Regions from separate parts of the Homo sapiens genome. Here all the other regions are linked to region 2. Evidence: promoter capture Hi-C in 16 types of primary human blood cells and fetal thymus (Javierre and others, 2016). All regions are on one chromosome and are shown on one strand. The core of a region is centred on a gene start or on the middle of the fragment in contact, and the rest is flanking DNA. Distances in the headings are between cores, read along the strand shown.

Region 1 (2,864 bases), core at 32-2,531, 390 kb before region 2:
GGCCAAGGCGGGCGGATTACCTGAGGTCAGGAGTTCAAGACGAACCTGGTCAACATGGTGAAACCTCACCTCTACTAAAAATACAAAAATTAACCGGGCATGGTGGCGTATGCTTGTAGGCCCAGTTACTCGGGAAGCCGAGGCAGGAGAATCGCTGGAACCTGGGAGGCAGAGGTTGCAGTGAGCCTAGATTGCACCACTGTACTCCAGCCTGGGCAACAGAGCAAGACCTTATATATATAAAAAAAAAAAAAAAAAAAAAAATTAGCCAGGCATGGTGTCACGCTCTTATAGTCCCAGCTACTAGGGAGACTAAAGTGGGAGGATCACCTGAGCCACTGGGGAGGTTGAGGCTGCAGTGAGCTGTGATTGCACCACTACGCTCTAGCCTGGGCAACAGAGGGAGGCCTGTCTCAAAAAAAACAAAACAAAAAAACTCTGGGTAAACTATTTATTTATTTTATTTTTAGTTTTTTATTTTTTAATTTTTATTTTTGAAGATGGAGTCTCTCTCTGTCACCCAGGCTGAAGTGCAGTGGCACAATCTCAGCTCACGGCAACCTCTACCGCCCAGGTTCAAGCAATTCTCCTACCTCAGCCTCCTGAGTAGCTGGGACTACAGGCATGTGCCACCACGCCTGGCTAATTTTTTGTACTTTTAGTAGAGACAAGGTCTTATCATGCTGGCGAGTCTGTCTCAAACTCCTGACCTCAGGTGATTCGCCTGCCTCAGCCTCCCAAAGTGCTGGGATTACAGGCATTAACCATCGCACCAGGCCCTGGGCGAAATATTTAAAGATCAACTTCTAAAGTTGATTTGTCTTCCAATAATACCAGATAGAAAACTGGAGCAACCCAGGGAAGATGGTATCGATCCTGGAAAGAAGGGAAGCACACTGGATGAGACCCATGTTTAACCAGCTTTTCCCCTGAGGGCATCACCCAACTTGCGTGACTCCGGGGGAATAGAGCAGAAAGTGGATGTCTTACTGTGCTGAGGAATCAGGTTGGAGTGTGAGTCGGAAATTTTGGGAAATAATGAAAATGAGGGAGACACAGAGGAGGAAACCATAAAATCTGCATAGAAATTGCCTTCAAATTCCTTTTTTCTTTTAATTTTTTCTTTAATAGAGACAGGGTCTTGCTATGTTGCCCAGGCTGGTCTCAAACGCCTGGGCTCAAGTGATCTCCCGCCTCAGACTCCCAAAGTGCTGGGATTATTGGTGTGAGCCACCACACCTGGCCAGAGCAACCTTTCTTTCTGAGACGGAGTCTTGCTGTCACCCAGGCTGGAGTGCAGTGGCTCACTGCAACCTCCATCTCCTAGGTTCAAGCGATTCTCCTGTCTCAGCCTCCTGAGTAGCTGGGACTACAGGCGCCCGCCACCACACCCAGTTAATTTTTTGTATTTTTAGTACAGACGGGTTTTCACCATGTTAGCCAGGATGGTCTCAATCTCCTGACCTCGTGATCCGCCTGCCTCGGCTTCCCAAAGTGCTAGGATTACAGGCGTGAGCCACTGCGCCCGGCCCAGAGCAACATTTCATAATGAAAAAAAGGTAAATTTACTAGAAAGACATAGCAATCTTAAATGTGCATGCAAACAATAACAGAGTTTTATAACCTGTGAAGCAAAAAATTGATAAAGAGAAATGGACAAATTTTCAATCACAGTTGGAGATTTTAACACCCCTCATTTAGTAACAGATAAAGTAAATAGACAAACATCAATAATGATATAGAAGAATTGAAAACTGTTGGTCATTTAGGTCTAGCTATTGAAAAACACATCTTCTTTTCACGTGCACATAAAACATTCACCAAAATATTCTAGGCTCCAAAACAAATCTCAAGAAATTTCAAAGGATTGGAAAATATACAATCTGATATAACAGAAATAAATTAGAAATGAATAATAAGATACCTAGAATACTCCTAAACATTTGTATATTAATTACATTTCTGAAAAACACTTCTGAATGGATCAAAGTAGAAATCACGGGAGAAATTAGATACTATTTCAAAATGAATGACAATAAAAACACATTTTGGGATGCAGCTAAAGCAGTTCTTAGATGGAAATTTATAACTTAAAATACTTTAGAAAAGAAAAAGAGTTTTAAAGTTAACTGTCTGTTTCCAGCTTAAGCATGTAAAAAAGAAAGAAGAAATACATAGGAAAAGGAAATAATAAAAATAACAATTAATGATGTAAAAAAATCAAGACAAAAATCAGTTCACTGAAAGGATAAATAAGATAAAATTGATAGTCCTCTAGCAAGACTGATCAAGAAAAAAAGAAGACAAAACACAAATAGCCATTATCAGGAATGAAAGAAGGGGTATCATCACATTATAGATTGTACTGATTATTATTATTATTATTATTTTTTTAAGAGACAGGGTCTTGCTCTGTTGTCCACTGCCCAGGCTGGAGTGCAGTGGCATGACTGTAGCTCGCTGCAGCCTGGAACTCCAGGGCTCAAGCGATCCTCCTGCCTCAGCCTCTCAAGTGGCTGAAACCACAGGTGCATGCCACCATGCCTGGCTAATTAAAAAAAATTTTTTTTTTTTAATTTTTGTAGGAATGGAGTCTTGTTATGTTGCCCAGGCTGGTCTTGAACTTCTAGCCTCAAGTAATCCTCCCTCCTTATCCTCCCAAAGTACTGGGATTACAGGTGTGAGCCACCATACCCCATCCAGATATTCAATATAATGAAGGAATATTGTGAATAGCTTTACTTCACAAAATTTAACAACTTAGATAAAATGAGCAAATTCTTTGAAAACATAAGTTTCCAAAACGTACACAAGAAGAAATGGAAAATATGAATAATCCTACATGTACTGATGAAATTGAATTA
Region 2 (2,815 bases), core at 93-2,592:
AAACTGAGTGTTTATTTGATCTTTACAAAGCTCTGACTGGAAAAACTTCCTGATACTGAACTAAAATTCATCTCGCGATCACTTGTATCTCTTGGGGACAAAAAGTCTTATTTCAGGTACAAGTGACAGCTCTTCAAATGTTTGAAAGTAACTACGTCTCCCAGTATCTCCAACGATCTCCTTAACCAATCCTCATAAAAATAAAGTTTTGATCGCCTTACCATTCAGATTACTGTCTTCTGCTCACCAGTTTGTTTACAATAAAATGCTTTCTTTGTGGGTCAAACACAGAGTAAGAAAATGAGAAAAGGGTATGTAAATAGGCAACGGAAAAAAGCACCAAGGCTCTGGACAGCTATATGCAAGTCAATCTGTAACGGGGAGCTTAAGTCTCCAATTGAAACTTGATCTCTGTAACTTACTCCATTGCAAATGTCACTACGTGAATCTACCTATGCAATGGTTTGCGCGTATGAAACCTGCTCCGCAGATCCATCCATTCTTTCTTGAATGTACAGTCAACAGACTGAGCACATAACCTCGAAAGGGTATAAGTAGGCTCTCAGTATAAAGGTATCTCCAGGGCGTCTTTAGGGTCTTCGCCGAACCCAAAAGTTCTCTGGGTGTTTTGAATGAACACCCTTGGATCGGACCCAGAAATGACCCACCTCAAACCTAATTTCGGGTTTCATTCTAAGGCGAATGGAGCTCGGCCACGTCCAGAAACACTTCTGTAGCAGTTAGGCTGCCCGATCAGGGGGGTTTGCCTTACTGTTCAATGGCACAGGGGCCCATCCCACCCCGGCCCCCTGCGGGCAAGAACTGGGGCTGGACGACCTCACACGGCCAAGAATGGGAGGCACAGAAAAAAGGTAAGCCCTTCTGGGGTCAGGGGAAGGCCCAGGAAGCCCCTCGGGTCCTGGCGCTGGGGTGTGATTGGGGAGGGATGCCGAGGCGGTCGACCCGGCTCGATTCCCTCAAGCCAGAGAAGCACGCAGTGACCTGATCAGACTCCCAGCCCCCCGGCCCGGGGGTGGGCCCTGGGCAGCAAGAAGCTGCCCAGGCCGGCGTTCCGCCGGGAGGCGCCCAGTCACCGGCCCTGACTCAGCTAAAAGCCGGCGCGGCGGCGGCTCCTCCCTCCAGGCGCTGGCTACGGGCCGCACTCACCGGCCGAGGTGATCATGGCTGCGCCCCTCACTCGCCCGTCGGCTCGCTCGCCGTTCCAGCTGCGCAGTGTATCTGTCAGCTCAGGGGCCGCTCAGTTCACCGCGCCTCCTTGCTCCCCGGGTGCGCTGCTCAGTCAGTCGCCTCCTCAGGCCGCCGGCTCGCTTCTCGCCAGGACCCCGCCCGCCCAGGGGCTGCCCGCCACCCCGCCTGCCGCCCGGCGCGAATTCTCCCCTGGCCTGCGTCTTCTGCGCGGCGGTATACTCCCCAGCCCTCGCGGAAGGGTACACAGAGAACACCATTGTTTTCTCTAAACCTCCTCGAGGTCAGGAGTCCCGCGCAACGGAACACTGGTCTGCACCTGAGGTCAGGCATTAGAATGGCCAGCCCTGCAAAGAGAGGACCCCCACCATCACCCGCCATTGCTGAGAGAAAGGGTGTTGAGGGGAGGTGCGAGCATTGCGCGCAGTGCCACCTACTGGTGGGAGGTCTCGCTGCAACACATCTCCCACCAGATAATGCTTAGGGAATTGGGGCTGCCGCAAACAGCGTTTTTTTTTGTTTTTTGTTTTTTTTCCCAGAAAAGTGGCTTTCAATTGTTTTCTAAAGCAAAACCTATCATAAAAAAAAGAAAATCCCCATAGAAGTGCTTTATTATCATAATGAATCCACAAGTAATCATTGGCTTATTATAAAGTTGAACAATGAAGGTTTTTACTTACTTTTGGAAAAATGTCCAGTGTTGTCAATATATTAAAATGTGCAGTAGTTATATGGCGAAAGCCTTTCCAAGGGAGAAAAAATGTCTTCCATTCTTTCCTTCTATCTGCCCAGGTCCTCTTTCCCCCGACGGCAGTGGGTTCTTCGTTTCTAATACATCTTCAGAAATTTGAAATGGCAGTTGCAATGGCCATTTGCAGTCTTATGCTAGCTTCAAGAAGTCAATTTATTTCAAGAGTCAGTACTGAGAAAGTCTTGACAAGGAATAGGGCAAACGGTAGCATTTTTTTCAGCCACCGGCCTTGCACTATCAAGCTAAACTCTTCAATCGCACAGCGATGGCGAGTTCATTTCTACGGCCTTCTACGTAACCTAGGGGCACAATCAATGTCTTGTGGTTGCCAGTGAATTAAATGTGCTTGATAACACATTTTGTTGTATCTGTGACTTTTTTTGTTTAAATTAGAATTCTTAAACTGTGGTTGTTTAAAATATATTAAATATAATTATTGAACATTTTTGAAGAGCCTGTGGCTCAGATTGAAAGGCAGGGCTCGAGAAGATGTGCATGCAAAGTAAACAGATTACTTGGGGTGTCATTCTACAGAGGTACTTCTTTTTTTTTTTTTTTGAGATGGAGTGTCCCTCTGCCACCCAGGCTGTAGGGCAATGGCGCGATCTCGGCTCACTGCAACCTCCGCCTCCTGGGTTCAAGCGATTCTCCTGCTCAGTCTCCCAAGTAGCTGGGACTACAGGTGTATGCCACCACACCCGGCTAATTTTTGTATTTTTAGTAGAGACAGGGTTTCACCATGTTAGCTAGGATGGTCTCGATCTCCTGACCTCATGATCCGCCCGCCTCGGCCTCCCAAAATGCTGGGATTAAAGATGTGAGTCACTGCACCTGGCTCTACAGAGGCACTTCTACCAA
Region 3 (2,700 bases), core at 67-2,566, 350 kb before region 2:
CCCAGCCCTCCAGCCCGGCCAGCCCCTTGCTCCTCGCGGGGCCCCGCCCCGACCCGCGGCCCTGCAGCCGGCACTGGGAGGTCTACGCCGCCTTACCCCACGCCTCGCGCAGCTCCGCGGGCTGGTCTCGAGGGGAGATGCCCTCGCTCGGGGCGCGCACCGGGTGGCGCCGAGATGCCCACCTCCTCCGCAGGCCCCCGGGATCCATCGGATGCCACCCCCACCACACACACAGGGCTCCCCCACCCTCGACAGCCGAACGCGTTGTCCCCTGCACAGCCCAGGCGGGTTCCGCGAGGGGCTCTGGGTCGCACCGCGCCCCGGGACGCCCGCGCCCACCCAGCAGCTCCTGGCTGCCCGGCGACGAGGAGCCGCGGGGGGCAGGCGGAGCCCGAGGGGGGCAGCTTCGCCATGGGTGAGGGCAGGGATTCCACGCATTCCTGTGGGATTCGGCCGCACCGAGGAAAAACAAAGCCAAGGTGATTTGTGATAGGTCACAGGCTGCACGGCAGGGTCAGTCAATCCCAGCCCAGGCCGGTAGTTCCCAACTTGAGTCACCTGGGAGCGATAAAAAATGCCTGGGCTCGCGCCCCACCCACTCACTCATTCGGATTCATTCTGTCTGGTTGCGATCTGGACTAGATATTTTCTCAAATTCCCGGGGGGCAAAACCCTCTAAAAGGATTGAGCTCTAAGCTTTGGCTCACTTTGGAAGGGTCTTCAGTGAGTATACAATGTATTCCAAGATTCAAGTTTTGTTTTAGAAATATAAGCAAAAATTGCATTCTGTTCGATAATGTATCTGTGTTCATTTTCACATAAAGGCAATTGGTAAAAGACAATTTTCAGAAAAAGGTAGATTCATGACCCTTGTTCAGAAATAAAAAATGAGCATGTATTAAAGATTTATTTTACTCATAAAAAGGACAAGGTAGATGTTATATCTGGTTCAAAGGAGACATCAAAAAGCACAAATTTATATGGAGTGAAGGAATTGAATTGCAAACAGCGGCAAACTGGTTTTTCCACCGTGGGGGTGTTGGTGGGGGGTGGAAGAGAAGTCAATGGAAGCTTCACCTGACAAGACAGTTTGCAAAGCCCTCAGTACTTGCAACTTAAAAAGAGGTGCAAAATAGCTCAAAGACCGTGAATGGGGCTGGAAGCAGACAGGTCTGGCTGTGCTTTAGATAATGTATAGTGTTTCACTGGAACAGAAAAGTTTTTCTTCACAATAGCTTAAATAACTCTCTGGAAACATTTATTTCTTACAGCCCTAATAACGCTGGGCTCCCCCAACCATCACAGTTTCAATCGCTCATTGGACATAACATTTTCCTCCTTTTAGACAGAAACAACAAACACAGATATTTGTGACTAAGTTACTGCTAAGGAAAAAGGATGGGAGGCTGGAGGCTCTTGGGAGACAGTAGAGTATGGGGGTTAGGTGTGCAGGGCACAGAGTTCAAATCGTGCCTGTCACACAATAGCCGTGGGATCCTTCTCTTAGAGCCCTCCATTTCTTACTTTGAACATGGTGTATAACAGGATTCCAGAAGCTTCCCCCTGCTCCTTCTCAGTTTAGGTGCACAGAATAAGTCACCTAGGAACAGCTTTCTTTGTTAAGAGTAGGATTCTTTGAGTGGTCTCCTTTAGTTATGTAAATGTGGCTGAGTAGGCACCCATTACCCTGGGGGAAGAGTGGAACTGGACTTTTTGAGGACTGACAAAGGCTACCCCTTTTCAAGGCCCCTTGGAATGCACAGCCAGTTGCCGGGGAGGAGGGAACCATTTTGCAAAGCCAGGGCCTTTGAGGAGGAAAGAGTTAAGACCCTGGGACCAACTAAAATCTACTGTCTAAAAAGTTGCTTCACCAGGCCAGAGAGAACCTGAGTCTGTGGGATTCCCCCACAGACTGTGTAGCTGACTGGGGGGCCACAGGACCCAGCACCCCTGGCATGCTGCTGCTCTCTGGGGAAAGGTCGTTGAGCTTGTGAGGGTGACTGAGAGAAGGGTAACTTTGTTTTGGAAGCATAGGCCCCACCGCAGCCTGTGCAGTGAAGGTAGCCAAGCCTCAGAAGCCACAGGACTGTGCAGGCCCGCTGTTCCACAGCGCCCCTGTGTGGAGAGAGAGGGAACAACTGGAGATGACTGCTCAGACTTTCCAGAGAACCCTCTCTTTGGAGGAGGGAAATCCCTGAGGTTCTTGGACAATTTGAGAGTGGGTTCCAAGAGGCTGATATTGGATTTTTCTGCCAATAATGGTACATGAGGGATTTGAGCAATCAATGAGAAAAATTAAAAAGTAACCATATTTGTACCCTGAGTTAAAGTCATATTGACTACACGTTAAATGTTTACCAGGGTGCCTGGCATATGAAATGTGCTCCATAAAATGTCAGTTGTTATCATTACCAGGAAGCAAAACTAAATGCCTGATTTTCCAGAGTGGGGCCCCACTGGAGCTGGCCAGAATGGGCCAAAGTGCGCCAGAGGGAGGGGTGGAGGTGCCTCAAAACTGCCCTCTGCTCCCTCAGGCTGCCGTGAACCCCTGCTCTTTGTCCCTTTGTGCTCAGGATAAAGTTAAAGTACTCCTGAACCTAGAAGACCTGAGAAACTGCCCTGCCTGCCTCCCAGCCTCCCACCCCTTCTCTCACCCCAGGTCCAGCCCCGAGAGGAGCTCCTTTCCGCTTCAGAATGCAT
Region 4 (2,700 bases), core at 65-2,564, 370 kb before region 2:
TAGCTTGGGCTCAGAGGCCTGACAGTCAGCCATTATAACCCCTGTGACCTGCACATATAAGTCCAGATGGCCTGCAGGAGCCAAGAAGTCTAGAGCAGACGAAAAATCACAAAGAAGTGAAACAGCCAGTTCCTGCCTTAACTAATTAATCCACCTTATGACATTCTACCATTATGACTTTTTCCTGCCCTGCCCCAGCTGATCAATTGACCCTGGGACATTCTTCTTCTGGACAATGAGTCCCATGATCTCTACACCATGCACCTTGGGACCCCCTCCTCTGCTAACAATAGATAACCACCTTTAACTGTAACTTTCCACTGCCTACCCAAACCCTATAAAGCTGCCCCTTTCTTATCTCCCTTCGCTGACTGCTTTTTCAGAGTCAGTCTGCCTGCACCCAGGTGATTAAAAAGCTTTATTCCTCGCACAAAGTCTGCTTGCTGGTCTCTTCACACAGATGTGCTTGACAAAAATCAAGTGCTCCAACTCTCTCTCTCTTTTTTTTAAAGAGATAGGGTCTTGCTATGTTGCCCAGGTAGGTCTCGAACTCCTGGCCTCGAGCTGTCCTCCCACTTTGGCACTCCAAAATGTTGTGATTACAGGTGTGAGCCCCTTACACCTGGCCCCAGCTATTTTTGAATTGAGCTTTCCTTACACAAAAAAACCCTTGCATCTTTAAATGCATTTTCAGAAGGGATCCTTTTCATTTTGCTGGTTTCCTTCTTCCATTCACAAGAATTTTTCAGCACAAAAAACATGGTGGCTTTTGTGGACTGTCATGTTCATTGCCAAAACTGAAACTGGATAATACGTATTTATCATATGTCTCTTTCTTCAATACTACAACTGTAATGTGGTATGATAGTGTTGTAGGAGTTAAGAAATTATTTTAGGCAGATAAGAGAGGAAAAGGGGTCCCTGGGAAGTTTTCGTTTTTAAAGCAGCTCTTAGAGCCAGGCCGGCAACCTTTGATATGCAAATGAAGGCCATTAGAAACTGGGTCCACCCAAACATGGCGATTCCTGCGAACTTCTTGCCCTTGCCCCACATGTTCCTGGCAACATGGCCACCCCTACATATCCCCATGTGTGTAGAACATCATGGCACCCTGCGTTTGCATATTAAAAGGCTAGGGTGGGAGGGCCAGCTTTTTCACGGGCTGCATGAATGACATGCCTGGTCAAACCAATCCCCTGAGCCCTATGCAAATCAAACACTGCTTCCTCCAGCCTCTACATATACCTGGCTGGTATCCACCACACTTGGGGTTCCCTCTTTGGACTTTGGAGCCCCCCTCCTTCTGTCTCTGTATGGGGGAGCTTCTTTCTGTCTTCTCCCTTTCTTCTTGCCTACTAAACTCTCCGCTCCTTAAAACTACTCCATATGTGTCCATGTCATTCTTTTTTTTTTTTTTTTTTGAGATGGAGTCTCACTCTGTCGCTCAGGCTGGAGTGCAGTGGCACGATCTCGACTCACTGCAACCTCTGCCTCCCTGGCTCAAGCGATTCTCCTGCCTCAGCCTCCCGAGTAGCTGGGATTATAGGCATGCGCCACCACACCCAGCTAATTTTTGTATTTTTAGTAGAGACGGAGTTTCACCATCTTGGCCAGGCTGGTCTGGAACTCCTGACCTCGTGATCCACCTGCCTCAAAGTGCTGGGATTACAGGCGTGGGCCACCATGCCCGGCTGAGCCTGCCTTCTTGTTTCAGCTCTCACACTGTAAACATGTGTCCTTTTGGTGGTCTATTTAGTGCCACTTTTTTTTTTTTTTTTGAGACAGAGTCTCGCTCTGTCGCCCAGAGCTAGAGTGCAATGGCGCGATCTCGGCTCACTGCAACCTCTGCCTCCCAGGTTCAAGCAATTCTCCTGCCTCAGCCTCCCGAGTAGCTGAGACTACAGGTGCGTGTCACCACACTCGGCTAATTTTTGTATTTTTAGTAGAGATGGGGTTTCACCATGTTGGCCAGGCTGGTCTTGAACTCCTAACCTTGTGATCTGCCTGCCTCAGCCTCCCAAAGTGCAGGGATTACAGGCGTGAGCCACCACGCCCAGCCAGTGCCACTTTTTTTGTATTTTGTGCTTTTTGTTGCTGGTTTTCTTGCTTCATGTGGCCCCCAAGTGAACTGCTGATGAGCTTTCTGGTGCTCCTAAGAGCAAGAAGGATGTGATGTGCTATAGGGAGAAAATCTGTGCGTTGGAGAAGCTTCATTCAGGTGTGAGTTATGGTGCCGTGAGTCCAATATTAATGAATCAGGCTGGGCGTGGTGGCTCATGTCTGTAATTCTGGCACTTTAGGAGGCCGAGGCAGGAGGATCACCTGAGGTCAGGAGTTAGACCAGCCTGGCCAACATGGTGAAACCCCATCTCTACTAAAAACTACAAAAAATTAGCTGGGCATGGTGGCACATGCCTGTAATCCCAGCTATTCAGCAGGCTGAGGCAGGAGAATGGCTTGAACCTGGGAGGCGGAGGTTGCAGTGAGCCAAGATCATGTCATTGTACTCCAACCTGGGCAACAAGAGTAAAACTGCATCTAAAAAAAAAAAATTAATGAATCAACTGTATATTAACTTCAGTGTCTTTAAACAGAAACAAACATAAAAAAAGGTTATGCGTTGGTCGACTGAGGAAAATATTGTGACTAGGCCGGGCATGGTGGCTCAAGCCTGTAATTCCAGCACTTTGGGAGGCCGAG

What was found. The method cuts DNA at HindIII sites, captures the fragments that hold promoters and counts their contacts. A CHiCAGO score of 5 or more calls a contact.
Region 1: a fragment that was not itself captured here is called in contact with the fragment with the promoter of PSMD1 in region 2 in 3 of 17 cell types (M2 macrophages, megakaryocytes and M0 macrophages); the score reaches 6.0 in M2 macrophages.
Region 3: a contact is called between a fragment that was not itself captured here and the fragment with the promoter of PSMD1 in region 2, in 2 of 17 cell types (M0 macrophages and endothelial precursors). The highest score is 6.5, in M0 macrophages.
Region 4: a contact is called between a fragment that was not itself captured here and the fragment with the promoter of PSMD1 in region 2, in 2 of 17 cell types (M0 macrophages and erythroblasts). The highest score is 7.1, in M0 macrophages.

Annotation. Positions count from the first base shown.
Region 1 is chr2:231,446,298-231,449,161 of GRCh38, reverse strand. No RefSeq gene overlaps it. Among named protein-coding and RNA genes, the nearest start is that of SNORA75, 8.2 kb to the left of the region's middle. The HindIII fragment of the contact is 7,975 bases long and covers 1-2,864 here.
Region 2 is chr2:231,055,394-231,058,208 of GRCh38, reverse strand. PSMD1 (proteasome 26S subunit, non-ATPase 1) reads right to left here and starts at 1,342. Exons shown (of 25, transcript NM_002807.4): 1 at 1,168-1,342. The coding sequence starts at 1,183. It overlaps LOC112268432 (a long non-coding RNA gene), which reads left to right and starts at 463. Exons shown (of 2, transcript XR_002959456.2): 1 at 463-872. RefSeq lists a silencer at 1,252-1,441. The HindIII fragment of the contact is 9,212 bases long and covers 1-2,815 here.
Region 3 is chr2:231,409,793-231,412,492 of GRCh38, reverse strand. It overlaps LOC124907997 (a long non-coding RNA gene), which reads right to left and starts at 197. Exons shown (of 2, transcript XR_007088118.1): 1 at 1-197. RefSeq lists a silencer at 1-330 and enhancers at 875-1,479, 1,480-2,085. The HindIII fragment of the contact is 485 bases long and covers 1,074-1,558 here.
Region 4 is chr2:231,427,753-231,430,452 of GRCh38, reverse strand. No RefSeq gene overlaps it. Among named protein-coding and RNA genes, the nearest start is that of SNORA75, 27 kb to the left of the region's middle. The HindIII fragment of the contact is 1,792 bases long and covers 419-2,210 here.